5 separate regions of the Homo sapiens genome follow, and all the other regions are linked to region 1. The links are contacts of gene promoters, found by promoter capture Hi-C in blood cells and fetal thymus (Javierre and others, 2016). All regions are on one chromosome and are shown on one strand. The core of a region is centred on a gene start or on the middle of the fragment in contact, and the rest is flanking DNA. Distances in the headings are between cores, read along the strand shown.

Region 1 (2,878 bases), core at 242-2,741:
AGTAAATGACAATATATACTTAAAATTTTCAGAAATACTTACAGCCTAGTTTTGTTAGAGGCTGTATTGTAGGAAAGCCTACGTCGGTATGTCAAACGCTGGACCATTCTGAGTGCCTAAATTAAGAATAGAGTAACATCAAATCTTTCCATTGTAAAAGTAAATAAAATCTCAAAACAGTATCATGTGGTCTATTTCATTCACATACATATCCTTGTATGTAACACCCTTAAATTAAGATGTATTATTCCACATTTTAAAACTACTTGTATTTAAAGGTGACTGATAAACAAGAGGCCAAGAATGTTAGCTTTCCTGATGGTAATCAAACGTGGCACTTCCTTAACGTTCTGATGACCAGGCTCCTTACTCAGAGTCTAATTTTGTTTGGAGTGGTGTCCAGAAAAGTGCCACGAGCCCAGTTGGAGAAACACCGCTTTAAACAAAGAGCACAAAAAGTGAGCTCTGAAGTCGAATCCTTAGCTATGCCATTTACTGGGAATATAAAGGGCAAGGAGCTAGCCTCCTTATCTCTAACATGGGAATTCTGTCTACTTTATACAGCTGTCATTAGGATTAAACGACGTGGGCTATCCGTCCCAACACAATGCCTGGCACATATCAGGGTTCAATGTCTTGCCCTAAAGCACCACCTGCGTAAAGGCATACCCTTTAATACTAATTTTGATATTACACAAGTTTCTTTGGGTTATGGCACCTGCTTTCTTCCCACTTCTGGAAACATCGTGATGTTATTTAGCAAATCGGTTATACAGATATGCATACGAGCAACTTCGTTAAGGGAACTACCCAACGTAAAACATAATCAATACTTGAACTAATTTAATCTTCCCATTCCACCCCTTGTAACCACCTCATTTGTTGTCACAAGCCTCTCACTAAAATTAAACTAAAACAGAATTACCAGACACCAAAACTTGACACGTAAAACCAGTGCGAGTGATTTATGAAGCCATTATTCTGTTTGCATCTCCAAAAGCAAGACAGAAACTTCTAACACATTTTTCTCTTCCTTGACATGGGCCTTGGACGCAGAAGCCAAATAGCGAAACCACCCGAACTCGCCGGACCCTGCCCTCCCAAAGACTAAGGACACGTACAGGCGTGCTGTGAAAACGTGGGTGTAAAATATGAAAACGTTTGGCGATTTTCCAGACTCAAACCGCCAAACCACAACTCGTTAGTCTCCAAACGCTACACTTGGAATGCAGCAAAGTCCCGGGTGGTGAGCTGTGGCTACTCACGGCTTTGGAGGTGCCACCAGGAACAAGGGATTTCCAAAGATCAAAGTAAGGAACTTCCTCACCACCAACCTCCCTGTTGTGCCCCTTACCCCTACACCAGCTCAAAGGACTGCTTCTGAGAGCTCTAGGCTTCCTCAGCTCCTCGGATGGCAGCCGATTGGTAAGGAAATAAAGACAGGGAAAAGAGAACAACATCCATACCTGCAGACAACGTCCCCGGAAGAGGAAGAAAAAAGCCTTTGCCAGTTCAAAGGTCAAATAGAATTGCGCAGGACAGGAAGTTGCGTCAGAGAGAGAGTATCCGTGTTGTACGGAAGCCGACGCACCTCTCCGACGTGGGCAGAGATGCAGGGAACCACCACGTTGTACGGCAACCAACGTGCCGCCCCTCTGTGGGCGGGGATTCACACTAGCTGTCTGTGTCAAGGCCACGCAGAAATCTATTGGAAATCGCTGTGGAAACAAACGCAAATGAAAAGCCGCAAAGAGCAAAGGTGGGACAAAATCAACTTCTTTCGTTGTCATGGACACTGCACTTTTAATCTAAAGGGCGCCAGCTCTGGCGTTAGACCTGGGTTTAAATCCCAACTCTTGACATTTATGGTTAAGGGACCTTCAAGGACCAGGGACCTTCAAGAACCTTCCCTTCTTCAACCTTCCCTTCTCTTTCCTTGTCATTTATTCAGAGCACAAGCTTTACAAACAAATTGGGATTTTAATCCAGTGTCTGCTAATTATTAGCTATGTTACTTTGAGCAAGCCCTTAAATCTCTAAAAGGAAGATATTAGGAACTACCGTGCCATGTTATGTCATGATCAAAGGCATTATGAAGTTAAAGCACTTAGCACAGGGTCTTATAGAGAGGAAGTGCTCAGTAAATGGTTGCTAATCTTATGATTATGTACAAAGAACTACTTGAGGCTTTTCATGGGTGGTAAAGTTTAACCTTTAAAACAGTATGTAAAATTTTACATTAAGCGCACGTGTGTATTTTTCTGAGAAGAGGGTCCCTGGCTTTCATCACCTTGTCAAAGGGATTCATGACCTCTAAAAAAGTAAAGAACTCTTTGCCTGGGCTGTAAAAGACAATTCTAAAAGGGGCCTTTAAGTTTTTAATCTTAGATCAGGCTCCCTGGAAACACACCTCGAAGAGACTTGAGTGTTGGCTTATGGGGAGCGCTCTTAGAATGCACCTCCAGGAAGCTGAGAAAGGCGGGGTCAGGTGATCCACAACGTGGTTGCTGTGAGGCAGCTGCATTGCCCCAGAAGAGAGGATTTGGATAGGATATCCCAGTACCCACTCAACTTTCCTTCTAGTATTTCTAATCCATCTAGCAAACCAAGAAAGCAGGCAAGTGACTGAGGGCATGTAGTCTGTCTTGAACTGTGAGGCCTATTGATTCTATCAAGCCTCACATCACTGCCATCTTTGTCACAACACCAGATGGAAGGCTCTGGTTATATCCTTCCCTCTGCTCACTCTCAAATAGCTGCTTCTCCCCCGACCTTGTCATCAGCTACTTCCCTCCTTTCCAGTCCTTTGATTTTTGTCCTCTGAAATCCTTTTCGTCTCTGTGCCAGGCATTGAGATGGAAGCTTGCATAGAGAGACA
Region 2 (2,878 bases), core at 255-2,754, 510 kb after region 1:
TTGTTTGAGACAGTCTTGCTCTGTTGCCTAGGTTGGGGTACAGTGGTGCAATCACAGCTTGCTGCAGCCTCTACCTCCTGGGCGCAAGCAGTCCTCCCACCCCAGCCTGTCAAGTAGCTGGGACCACAGGCATGTGCCACCACGCCCAGCTAACTTTTCTATTTTTTTGTAGAGATGGAGTTTCACCGTGTTGCCCAGGCTGGTCTTGAACTCCTGGGTTCAAGCAGTCCTCTCACCTCGGCCTCCCAAAGTGCTGGGATTACAGGTGTGAGCCACTGTGCCTGGCCTGCACCCTTTTTTCTTGCTTACTGTTTCTCTTTCCTGTCAGCTGAGTCCAGCTCATGTCCCCCTGCCCTTTTCACTGTTTGAGTTCCAAGCCAACTCCCACACAGCTACCTTGATCAGATTTGACTCTCTTATTTTACCTCAGAGTCAAAATCTTGCCTGGGCGGGAGCACAGCAGTGAGCCTATAGCTTAACTTGGAATTGAAACCACCATTTATTTTCCTTCTGTCATTGTCAGGGACCTCAATTGTCTCTACAAAAATAGCTTTCCATAACTGCTCCTCAGTAGAGGGAAGAAAGCAGTAAAGAGGAAGGGGCACTGCAGCCTTCAGACCGCAGGCCTGCCTTACAGCCGTGTGTGTGTGTGTGTGTGTGTGTGTGTGTGTGTGTGTGTATGTGTTACATTATAGGCAGACCTTTTAACCTCTCTGGGCCTCAGTTTCCTTATTGGTAAAATGCAAGGATTGAAGTAAATGAATTTCAAGGTCTCACTGCTCTGATGTTTTGAAAAGCTTCAGTGTATCTTTCAACATTTTCCATTACAGATTCTTTTTTCTCATGCTGTAAATGCCAGAAGCAGAGAGAGGTTAGTCTTATCTATTTCTACAGCAGCAGCTACACAACTATCTTATTCTTTCTCTCTTTAACCTCTTCCAGTCTGATTAGGACTCAGCTTCATCCTACTGTTTTGATAGCAATTATCTATTCTGTGGCATCAGCTACTATTTATTTTTGAGATAGAGCTCAGAGTTACCAATTCTTGGGTTATTAGCACACTTGTATTTAGCAAGACCAATAATGTGAACCATCTTAAAATTAACACTTAAAAAGAAATTTTCTCAAGGTTACATAGCAGAAGAATGACATGGACTCACCATAGCCACTGAGAGAGCGGGTAGCTTCCCAGTATTAAACCGAATTATATCTGAGTAACTTCTCTTGATCAAGTCTCACCACTGTTTCTACTTACTACTACTGTTCTTGCCCTCATATTCATTCAGTTGTGTCTATTGATCTCTGATCTATTTGGATAGCTCATTTCCAATATATAAATTTGGATACTTGCATTGTCAGTAGATACTTTTTGTCCCTAACAGATAGTATAGGTGTGCGCATGGAATTATATGTGGACATAGATCTTTATTTGAAGCCTTACAACCTAAAATGGATTATAAATTGCTTCTTTAAATTTAGCCTCCTGGATTTAGGTTGTCCACAGCAGGCCAGTGGGAGCACAATTCGGATGCTCGTCTCCTCCTGTCCCATCCCATCCCATTCCGTTCCTTTTAGGCAGCAGCTCCCTGCCCTCCTCGAGCCCCATAAGTGCTGCTCGGGATAATTCCATCCTGGGCAAATGCAGGGCAGTGGTCTCTGGAGTTTCTGTTCACAGAGGAAGCCGGCTGTTCCATTTATAACAAGGAAGGGTAGTTCTCTCAGACATTGCACATACACTTCAACGTGATGTAACCTGATAGCCCCTGACGGAAGTCCTAAGGCTCTCTCTTTAAACCCTTTTCCAGAAGGCAAGGTGTTTTCCTTGCTCTTTGGCTGCTGCTCACAGTATTTTCGTGTTATCTCCTCAGACATTAAGTCCCATATCTTTAGCTCGCAGAGTTTGTCTGCTCATATGCACCACACTTAAACGTCCACATCTAGAAAACACTCTTGTTTTCACATCACTTGGGGCTGTTTCCCCAAACTGCTTACCTTTTCACCATGGCTTTGCTGTTTTCCTCATTTTGACCTTTTCTTGTTAACATAAGATGCTTGTGTGTTGTTTCTGCAATAACCACTTTCTGGAAGGGCCTAGTTGACATTTCTTATCCTGCTGTTTTGACTGTGATGATGATGATCATTATCATCATATATATGATTCTTTGCATACAAAGTGCTTTTACAAACCCTTTATCGTTTAGGCCAAGCTTGGTCCTCCTCCCTGGCTTCTTGTTACAGATTCCTTTACTTGACTCTGATAATACTTTTTAAATTAGTTTGCTTACCAAGTGGGTTAACAATAAAGAAGAGAGAAAATCTCTGAAGGACACTTTTCCTTTATGTTTGTTTGCCTAAATGCTAAATAACTGGCCTATTACAGTCACAGAGTATGACTGTAACTACTGACTTAAATATGCTGATTTTCTGCAATGAAAAGAATAGCTTTTGATAAATGTTAATAAATAGCTCAAAATTTTTGAGTAATCATAACTTCTTGAATTTTCTATAACATACTTGCCTTAAAAAAAACTCCAGATTGCTTTAAACTTATGTGTTTATTTTTTATTCTTTGTCTTCATATAGTGGTTTTTTAAATGAGTTTAGGGTCTAGAACTAAATCTTTTACAGCTGAAAGCAGAACAAAGCAACTTTCAATTGGATCCGTCTTTTCTTTTATTCAAAATGATTATTCTAAGCACTTGTGACAGTGGGTAGCTGAGTAGTAGAAATAGCCACATAGTGCTTCATCCTCCTTGCCTCTCTTACTTTTCTCTCGACATGCATACCTGCAATTTATCCATGGTCCCACCCTCCCAACACATTACTGCTGTTTTGCATTTGCCCATCCTCCCATTTGAAGGAGTGCCAGGGAGGTCCT
Region 3 (2,878 bases), core at 176-2,675, 480 kb after region 1:
TGTAAAAAATGTTGAAAATAACTATTTAAAAAACTATTCTTCGTAGCTTCAAAATTCTGTACTGTTTGAAGAATAATTACAATACTTATTTAGGGAGAGGCACCAAATACATATTTTAACTAACATTAAAGTCAATTTTAAAGTACTTACAATAAAGAAAAAGTTGACTTTTTAATAAGCCAGAAGAAACTTAGTCTGGGTTAAATAGCTTTATCCTTAGCAAAAATGACCAGACAACCTCTCAGAATTTTAAAGGAAGACTTAGAGCCCTTATTGGTAGCTATTTAGTTTTCAATGACTACATACTTATATAATTTCATAAAAATTATTGGAAGTTATTTCCCTTTTTACCCTTGGATATTTTGAGTTAGAACATTATTTTTAAAATCTTATAAGCACAGTAGGGTAAATAATCACAAACATTTATGTTTTTTAAAGAAAAAGACACCTTACTGAAGGGCAAATGACCCTATATTATTAGATTTAACTATTCAGTCACCGTAAGAATTACAATAGCATGTTTTATACAATGTGTGAATCGTAACTCTAGGTCTGCAGTTATAAGACCCCTGAAAGGCAAACTTCTGGCATTTGATCATATGTATTGCTGAACTTTCCAGATCTGGGTGGGGTATCCAAACCTGGAATTGTTATAATACTATGCAGCATAAGCATCTAAAGTTTAAAAAAAAAAAAAAAAAGGAAATTTAAGGAGATGAGAAGTATTTGAACTGGCAATATGCTATATAACTGTACATGTTTTTATAAAGATTAATCCTTTGATTTTAGAATACTTGGTCAAATAGCCAGTAGAATTTAAGTTTTGAAGGTTTTGGGGGGAATACGCATATAGTAGAAGGACAAAGCAGAAATGGTTAAGAAAGATACGAATTTTATAGCATGCTAAACCAACACCACGTGAAATTTTATAGGTGCAGGTTCTTTATGGAACTTCTAATGTTTGCACATTTATTTTAGAAAAAATGAACTATGCTTCTGAAAGTTATTTTACATTTAAGTTCAGAGTTATTTCCTGTTTTCTTCTCTTGTCTACCATAACTTGTTTTGTTTTTTTCTACCTGAATTTTAACCCTTGAAAGATTTCATTATTTTCACATCACATCATCACCTTCCCCTGAGCAGCTGAGACCAGTTTTTGCTCATTCAACCTGTTTGTGTAGTAATTTTGTGACTGATTTTCTTCATGTATGGGCAAGGAAGAAGTCATACTGTTTGTACAGTTCACATTTGGGCAGGATTGGGGGAAAGGGGGATGAAGCCAAAAAGAAAAAGTTCTTGGAGCCAGCCCATGGGGTGCGTGGGAGGAGAGCAGAAGGAATTGCAGGCTCCAAGCAGGTTAGCTTGAAGGACTCACAGTGGATAATTACCTACACTATATGGCTGGAGGAGGGCTACAAGTCTCCACTTGCCTAAAAACAACTCCCCCGCTGGCAGGCCATTGAAGTGTCACTCAGCCAGCTTCCTTACCCCCAGTTCCCACTGCTAGAGGCTCTCCATAGACAAAGCAGGGCGTTGTTGCCTAGAGGCCCCTGTTCTTGCCGGCTAGCAGACACAGCACTGTACCTCTCCTGGGGCATGCCAGTCCCCCAGTGGGAATAACTCCCTCCACCTTCACTCTCGCCATCCTGAGCCTCCACTGGAAGGGATGCTTGCATTTCAGGGCCATCACCAGAAATAGATGGAAGCACATCTCCATCTGTATTTGAGCCTGCTGTCATTTGCCTCCTCCTACCCTTTATCACTCTTCCAGGCTAAACAGTCTTAATTCTCCGTGCCTGCTGGTTTCAGAACGTTTGCTGTTGTGGCCCCACTCCTAGTTACATTCTTTGTTTTGGCCCAATAAAAGTTTGGGTTTTGAAGTACACTCAGTGCTTCAGATTGAGCTGGCCCCCCACAGGATAGGAGTGGTCTGTAGCTTCCCTCATTCTGGATGTTTGAGTTCCATTAATGCGCTGCAGGTTTTAGAGTCTTAATAGCGTCTTGACACCTGGGCTCAAAGTAGATTTTAGGCAGCTAAAACTCCTGTCTTCCTCTAACAAGTTTGGTTTATGGACCCATCAACTTGCAATGTTTTATTGTAATCTATATTAGCACCCCCCTTCTCAATTCACTTGGTCACTTTAGTCATTTGGGGTCTTTTTGGACCTAGTGATGTAGTGTTTTTTATTCCTTCCATTTTCTTGTCATATGGGAATTTGAAAGGCAGGCATCTGTATCCCTTTTAAAGTCATTGATTAAAATGTATGAAGAAGCAGGGATGCTGGGTGGGTTATCATTACCCTTTGAGTATATGAAAGGGTTCTGCTTCAACTTGGGAATCAGATAAGAATCCTGGATCTCCCTTTGGCTTGCTATGTGACCTTGAGCCATTTACTTTAACTTCTCAGGGTTTTAATTTCCTCATGTATAAAACGATGTTACCTCCTACTTCATAGAGCAGAGTGAGGAATGGAGAGTATGCATGCAAACCATCAGATGTGCCTAGCACATTGTAATGGGCAATACGTGCTCTTTTTTATCCTGTTTTGGAATCACATTGATAAGAGTTTAATCCTTCATCTGTATGTCTTGATGTATTTGGAATAACTCTGTGTGGCCCATCAGCTTCTCCAGTCTCCTCTTTTCTAGGATGGAGTGCCAGTGCTGTAGCCTGCTCCTCCAGTGCCCTGTATTATTCTACATTTGAACTTTAAATAAAGAAAGAAAGCTGCTCTGGATGAGCAGTAGAGCCCTATTCTAGCCCTCTTTGATTACACTAGGTTAATTTGTCAGTTGATAATTTAGAAGTATGACGTGTGGAGGCACAGTGGATAAGGGAGAAGTGTAAGAGCTGTCTTCCAATAGTGGAAGGACTGCT
Region 4 (2,878 bases), core at 265-2,764, 430 kb after region 1:
ACCCTTTAAAATTACACAGATGAAGCAAGTTTATTCAACCTGCTTAAGCATTTAAAGTCTTAAGAGAAGATACCAGCTTTATGAGGAATATGGCATAAAACAATACAGTTGTTACGTATTACTGCTTGCCATTTTGTACAGGCCGCACATGAAGCACAGTGTGAAACTTTCTGGTTCTTCCAAAGATCCTCCAGAGCTAGCTCAGGAACTCACAGCAGGTTTTTCCCCAAGCTTCAGCCATGTGTGTCTATGATTTTTGCCATATCTCTTTACCACCAGTCTTATTATAAGCATTTTATTTAAACCAATTGGTTTAAATAAAGTAGTTCTTACATGAATCCAGTTATATCACAATAGTAAATGGAAAATCTAATATCACAATAAATAGTAGGCAATTAAAAAATAAATATAATGAAGGGGAAAAAAACCCTCTTAGTATAAATTCTAGCAAGATTCTCTCAACAACTCGAGGTTTCTAGCCTGAGACCTGATCTAGCTCTCTGGTAAAAAGGGAAATAAACAGGCACTAGAAATGGTTAAAGATTTGCAGGTACTGTAGTTCAAGTTTTCCCAGAAGCAAACCTGTGACTAGAATTCAGTTGCAATTAGTTTACTTGCGAGGTGAAGGAAATGTGGAAACACAATGAAGGAGGTGGGAAGTGAGGCAGAAAAGAGAAGGAAGCAATTGAATAACATATTATCAAGCCAGCTCTCACTGTGGACAACTAGAGCTTCATCCCTCTGAGGAAACTCAGGGAGCCAGTGTAAAACACACCTCAGAATTCGCCTACACAAAGAATGAGAGAGACGGGGTATTTATACACCAACTGCTATTAGTCACTTGTTGAAGGTCAATCCCTAGGACATTAATTCCCCAGCATTCCTGGGTTGCCTTGTGGGCAGCAAAGCAGGTCTCATAGTCAAGAGAAGGCCTTGGGCAAAGAATATAAGGGCTGTAGGTGTAACTCTGGCAGGCATACACCCACTTGATAAAGGTGAAAAGGTATGGGCCAGGTTCCAACAGAGGCTGCTACAGGTACTAGACTGATAGAGAATAGAAAAGGAAATAGTTTTCTCATGATTTGAGTGAAAATAATTTATTGCTAGTCCTGTAAATCACTCAAAATCATCTCCCATACCACCAAGCCAAGGCTCCCCAACCCCTGGAAACCTTCAAATACTCTTGTAAGGCCTGAAACAGCTCAGCAAGGATAAAGCCTGGCCCAACAACTGTCCTGAGGGGCCTGGTGGAATTCCATCCAGGCCACTGAAAAACAGAACTTTTCAGATATTTTGTTTACTCTTCTCCCTATCAATTAGAAATAGCTTCATAATACCTGCCTGCTCAATAGAGCATTCCAAAAGAGTTGTCTCTAGAGAAGCAGGTCACATTGACAACACAGACAAATTAGAGTATGACTGTTTACTTTTAAATGGAACTTTTACCTTTAAAAAAGGGCCATCAAATGCCTTCTAATAACAGCTTCCCTGATTTGTTTAAAATATGATTTATTGTTTATATGTATATTAAGCTATATCCATTTAGGAGATCACAACAATAACAAGAGGTAAAGTATATAGGTACTATGTGCTACGATACTTTTGTGTATGTATTTTTGTAGATATTCTTTCATTCAACAAACATTTATTGGATTCTATCTGCAAGTCAGGAACTGTTCTAGGTGCCTAGATTTATAGCAATGAAGGAAACAGACAAAAATCCCTTCCCTCCAGGGAATTACATTCTACTAGGGAAGACAGTCAAAAAATAAAAATAAATGAATAAAATACATAGGATGTCAGCTGGTAATAAGTACTACAAATATAGTGAGAGACGAGGATAAAGAGTACCAACAGCTAGGGGAGGAGTTATAATTTTAAATAGGGTGATCAGGGAAGACCTTACTGACAAGGGATATTTGGAAAGACCTGCAGGAGGTGAGGGAGTGAGCCATGTGAAGATCTGGGGAAACATTACTACGAAGAAAGGAAATAGCCTCTGCAAAGATGCTGGGGTAAGAACATGCCCAAGATTTGAGAAAGCAAATAAACTCAAGTGGCCAATGCACAGAAAGCAAGGGGAACAGTGAGAGATGAGATCAGAAAAGTAAGAGGTGGGTGTAGATCACACAGGATCCTGCAGAACATTGGGAAATGGTAAGCTGCTGGGGCATTCTGAGCAGAGGAGGGACATAAACTGACCTAAGTTTGTAAACCAAAAAAATGCCAAGCCCCCCAACTGACTGTATGGACCCCCTCTGTGCCAAGGGGATCCCAGAGAAACACGAAAAACTGAATTCCCAGCCATAAGAGGAAGGGACGTCAGGCATGCCTGGTTATACCCCTCCCTTCTAGAGTTTAGGACAACTGACCAGCATTAACACTGAAATAGAGATCATAAGACTGACAGAAACAGACTCTTTGTGGCAATAAGTTACCAAATTCCAACCTGATTCTGATATAGCATCACATGAGATAGAAGACTCTGAAGGAAATAAAGTGATTTTACCCTAAAATATATTTCTTTGACATATTTTGAAATGGCCCTAGAAAGCCCTCTCTCGGGGAAATTTGCATCTCTAGAAAATCTCCTTCCCTTTCTAGTTTTTCCTGGATCTAAAAGGGACTAAAGGAGAGTTTTGTTTCGAAAAGTTTTGAAAAGAGACATTTACCATCTATTCTAAGGCTGTTACCTGGAGGTTTAATCTAAATAACAAGAACCTTGGATTTCACAATCCTCCCCGCATCTTGACTCTAGCGTGTCTTTGTACTGACTTCAAGTCTAGACAAAGCTTAACTTTTTCAACCAATTGTCAATCCGAAAATCTTTGAATCCGCCTGTGACCTATAAGTAACCCCCTCATACTATGACGTGTCC
Region 5 (2,878 bases), core at 204-2,703, 270 kb after region 1:
TTTCTCAAACTATCACCCTCTGCTTGTTATACCCTTTAACTCAACCTTCTGGAAAAATCCACTGACCAACAGCACTGCTTCTTCATTACAGCAACAGCGAAATGGAGTGAGATACTGTTAGATTCTCAGCAAGCCAAAAGGACAGTGGAAGAGCTGGTAAAGAAAACAAGGTTAAGGCCTCGTTGCCCCCATCAGAGCTAAAGCCAACCATTAAAACTCCCTTTAGCATTTCCATTTCTGTGCCTTCACTATTGAGCTCAGCCCTGTCTCATCTCATAGTACCCTCAAGCACCATCATTTGAAATAATTTTATTTCCATAAACATGTATAAAACAATGTTTCTCATAAACATCTATGCGTTATAAGGATTTAACTCTAAATTCCCTTTCAAGTCAGTTCAGGTGCCAGCAAGGATCCAAACTACTCTTTGTTTCTGGCTGAATGATGTACACAATCCCAAGAAAGACACCAAAGAAGCACTCAGCTCTGTTGCTATAAAACTAATAAATAGTGCAATCAACACAGGACACATTCCAGAGAAAGCCTGTGCTCAGTGGCTGGGTACATGACTCAAAGCAGCAGCCTCCCACTATCAAGAGTGGTCGAAAGATTGGGTTGTGAGGATAGGGGAAGGATTACATGTCATAAGAAAAAGGAAATTATGTTGATAATGATTTCTGGAGTCACTGCCAGCAACTTCAGCCAACTTGCCTGCAGGTTATCAAAATGTGCCAAATGTAGGTCCAGCCCTGTCAAGATTCAAAACATTCTTCACTCAGATCAAAGGAAGACCCTCAGAATAATTTTTTTTACTCAATACAAATATTGTCCCCAAAATCAGAGATCTCTAGACTGTCAGACTTAACGTATAGTAGAACAATTTCCCAAGTTACTGTTTTAGTACGAACGTATGGGAATAATTTGAAAAGATGCTTACAATATTGCAAAAACAGTGAGTCCTTAATATCACCATTCAATCATTGTTCAATCATTCACTTAATGCATTTCTTGGGCACTTAATGTGCAAAGTATTTTGCTATTTCTGTGCAGAATCCAAAGTTGGGAGGCAGGATAGCATCACGTTTAGAAATACACACTCTGGTGGCATTCCAAACTTTGGCGGGTCACTTACTAGAGGTGTTATTTAACATCTCTAAGTCACATCTACTTCCTATGGCCCTCATAAAGGTCAAATGAGATAATGAATGTAAAACACTTGGCAGAGCTCCGGGCACATAGAAGTGCCCAGTACATGTTAGTAGGTATTCAAAGTCATAATTTCTAGAATCAAGGCAACATTTCCGAGAATAAAAAAAATCATGGATGTTTGACAGGATATTTGTCCAGCTCCTTAACACATCACTTTCCCTCTTCACACACACATACACAATACTCATGGAGCTCTCAGATTTTCTTTCTGCAGGTAAGTATTTGCTGTTAGGTTTATTTATGCATTGTACTTAGAATTGTTTTTTCTTAAACAGTCAGGGTAGGTGGCTGTGTCAGTCCCACTCTGGACTGATATTCTGAGTCACAACAAATCCCATATTATCTGTACCAAAATGAAACTGCTCCGGCATCTCCAGGAAAGTGTTTACTGACCTGTAAATTACTCCATTGTCCATCTGAGGAGAAAGTAAATCAGCCATCAAGGGGAAAACACAGGAAAGGAAAACAGTTGTTTGTCACAGCGGAGGATTGTTTTTTGTGTTTTTTTGTTTTTTACAAGCTCCTCCGTGTCCTAAGACAAAATAAGAGCCTATGGCTCTGTCCAGTAATGACTTTCCTCAGAAAAGCTGTGTCCTCCCCAAGGTACAGTGAAACCTTTTGCTGAAGTGATGGACTCCTCTTTTGCAACCAGTTAGCACCTGCTCGCAAAACTTGATCCCTCCTTGGTTTGTTTCAAGTGGAGCCAGGGGATCAGGACTTAATTAGCGGTGATATCTCTCACACTGATCAGTTCCATCCAGCTTCCCCTGAGGCCCTAGATTTGTCTCTATCTGGAATTCCCGTGCTTGCTGGTAGGCTTGTGTTTGCAGTTAGCTGGCAGACACTTCCCACTGCAGCGCGGGGCGGCAGGAACACCCCTCGTGGCAGAGCAGGCAGCCCTTGGCGGGGCTTGGTGGGAGGCAAGTCTCAGCACCTTCGTTTAGCCTGGCGCCCACAGCCCAGAGGCGGCCCCACCGTGGAGCTTCCCCCGTGCAAGGACGAGGTCCACTGAGGCTGCCTCAAGTGACAAGGAGTCACCCTCACCAGCTGAAGGAAGAGCCATGGAGGGCTCAGTCCTGTGTGTTTGCAAATGGCCCTTGGGCTGCTGAGGATGGATTTTTTTTTTTTTTTTTAAGAGGGGAAAATGCCTCAGCTCTGTACCAGCTTGAAGCCAAAATAACATGTTTTGGCAACCATTATTTGGCAATTAGGGCCTCAGCTCACTGGAAGCATTCTTCCATGCAAAATATGCCTTAGAAAGAAAACACTAAGCCACATCTGTGTGAAAATATAGGAAGTGAACACAGGAGTGACAGAGCAGTGAGAGTCCAAAAGGGGCTTACTAGACTGGGTTGGAGTCAGGACACATTGGCGGAGGCCAGGCAGTGACTGGGTGACTGGATGTTTTCACAGCCTTACCTCCAAATCTGACCCAGTCCAGCGAGGGACTAAGGATATGGCATGGTGACATCCTATGTGTGTGTCTCCTCCTCCCAGATGATGGACTTGCCTTTCTCTGGCCTTCAAAGGAGCCCTCCCGCACGTTTTAAGCAAAGGCAAAACAGAGGAACGGACCCAGGCCTGGGATCACGTTTTGCTAGTGGGTACACCCACCTCCCTCACCTCAGCCTCCCAGAGGGCAGGCAGAGGGAGTAGATTGGGGCTGGGA

The links. The method cuts DNA at HindIII sites, captures the fragments that hold promoters and counts their contacts. A CHiCAGO score of 5 or more calls a contact.
Region 2: a contact is called between a fragment that was not itself captured here and the fragment with the promoter of RPL34 in region 1, in 8 of 17 cell types (fetal thymus, naive CD4 T cells, megakaryocytes and 5 more). The highest score is 13.9, in fetal thymus.
Region 3: a fragment that was not itself captured here is called in contact with the fragment with the promoter of RPL34 in region 1 in 5 of 17 cell types (fetal thymus, activated CD4 T cells, naive CD4 T cells and 2 more); the score reaches 9.6 in fetal thymus.
Region 4: a fragment that was not itself captured here is called in contact with the fragment with the promoter of RPL34 in region 1 in 1 of 17 cell types (non-activated CD4 T cells); the score reaches 5.3 in non-activated CD4 T cells.
Region 5: a contact is called between a fragment that was not itself captured here and the fragment with the promoter of RPL34 in region 1, in 1 of 17 cell types (fetal thymus). The highest score is 6.4, in fetal thymus.

Annotation. Positions count from the first base shown.
Region 1 is chr4:108,619,189-108,622,066 of GRCh38, reverse strand. RPL34 (ribosomal protein L34) reads right to left here and starts at 1,491. Exons shown (of 5, transcript NM_001319236.2): 1 at 1,467-1,491; 2 at 43-116. The coding sequence starts at 107. It overlaps RPL34-DT (RPL34 divergent transcript), which reads left to right and starts at 1,610. Exons shown (of 4, transcript NR_026968.1): 1 at 1,610-1,759. RefSeq lists enhancers at 1,479-1,528, 754-1,953. The HindIII fragment of the contact is 3,742 bases long and covers 1-1,961 here.
Region 2 is chr4:108,113,648-108,116,525 of GRCh38, reverse strand. All of the region lies in intron 3 of LEF1 (lymphoid enhancer binding factor 1), which reads left to right. Among named protein-coding and RNA genes, the nearest start is that of LEF1-AS1, 52 kb to the left of the region's middle. The HindIII fragment of the contact is 1,410 bases long and covers 800-2,209 here.
Region 3 is chr4:108,134,289-108,137,166 of GRCh38, reverse strand. The region is part of intron 3 of LEF1 (lymphoid enhancer binding factor 1); the gene reads left to right. Among named protein-coding and RNA genes, the nearest start is that of LEF1-AS1, 32 kb to the left of the region's middle. RefSeq lists an enhancer at 1,199-1,750. The HindIII fragment of the contact is 6,783 bases long and covers 1-2,878 here.
Region 4 is chr4:108,187,050-108,189,927 of GRCh38, reverse strand. No RefSeq gene overlaps it. Among named protein-coding and RNA genes, the nearest start is that of LEF1, 20 kb to the right of the region's middle. RefSeq lists an enhancer at 2,628-2,878. The HindIII fragment of the contact is 2,561 bases long and covers 234-2,794 here.
Region 5 is chr4:108,349,680-108,352,557 of GRCh38, reverse strand. No RefSeq gene overlaps it. Among named protein-coding and RNA genes, the nearest start is that of LEF1, 180 kb to the right of the region's middle. The HindIII fragment of the contact is 6,562 bases long and covers 1-2,878 here.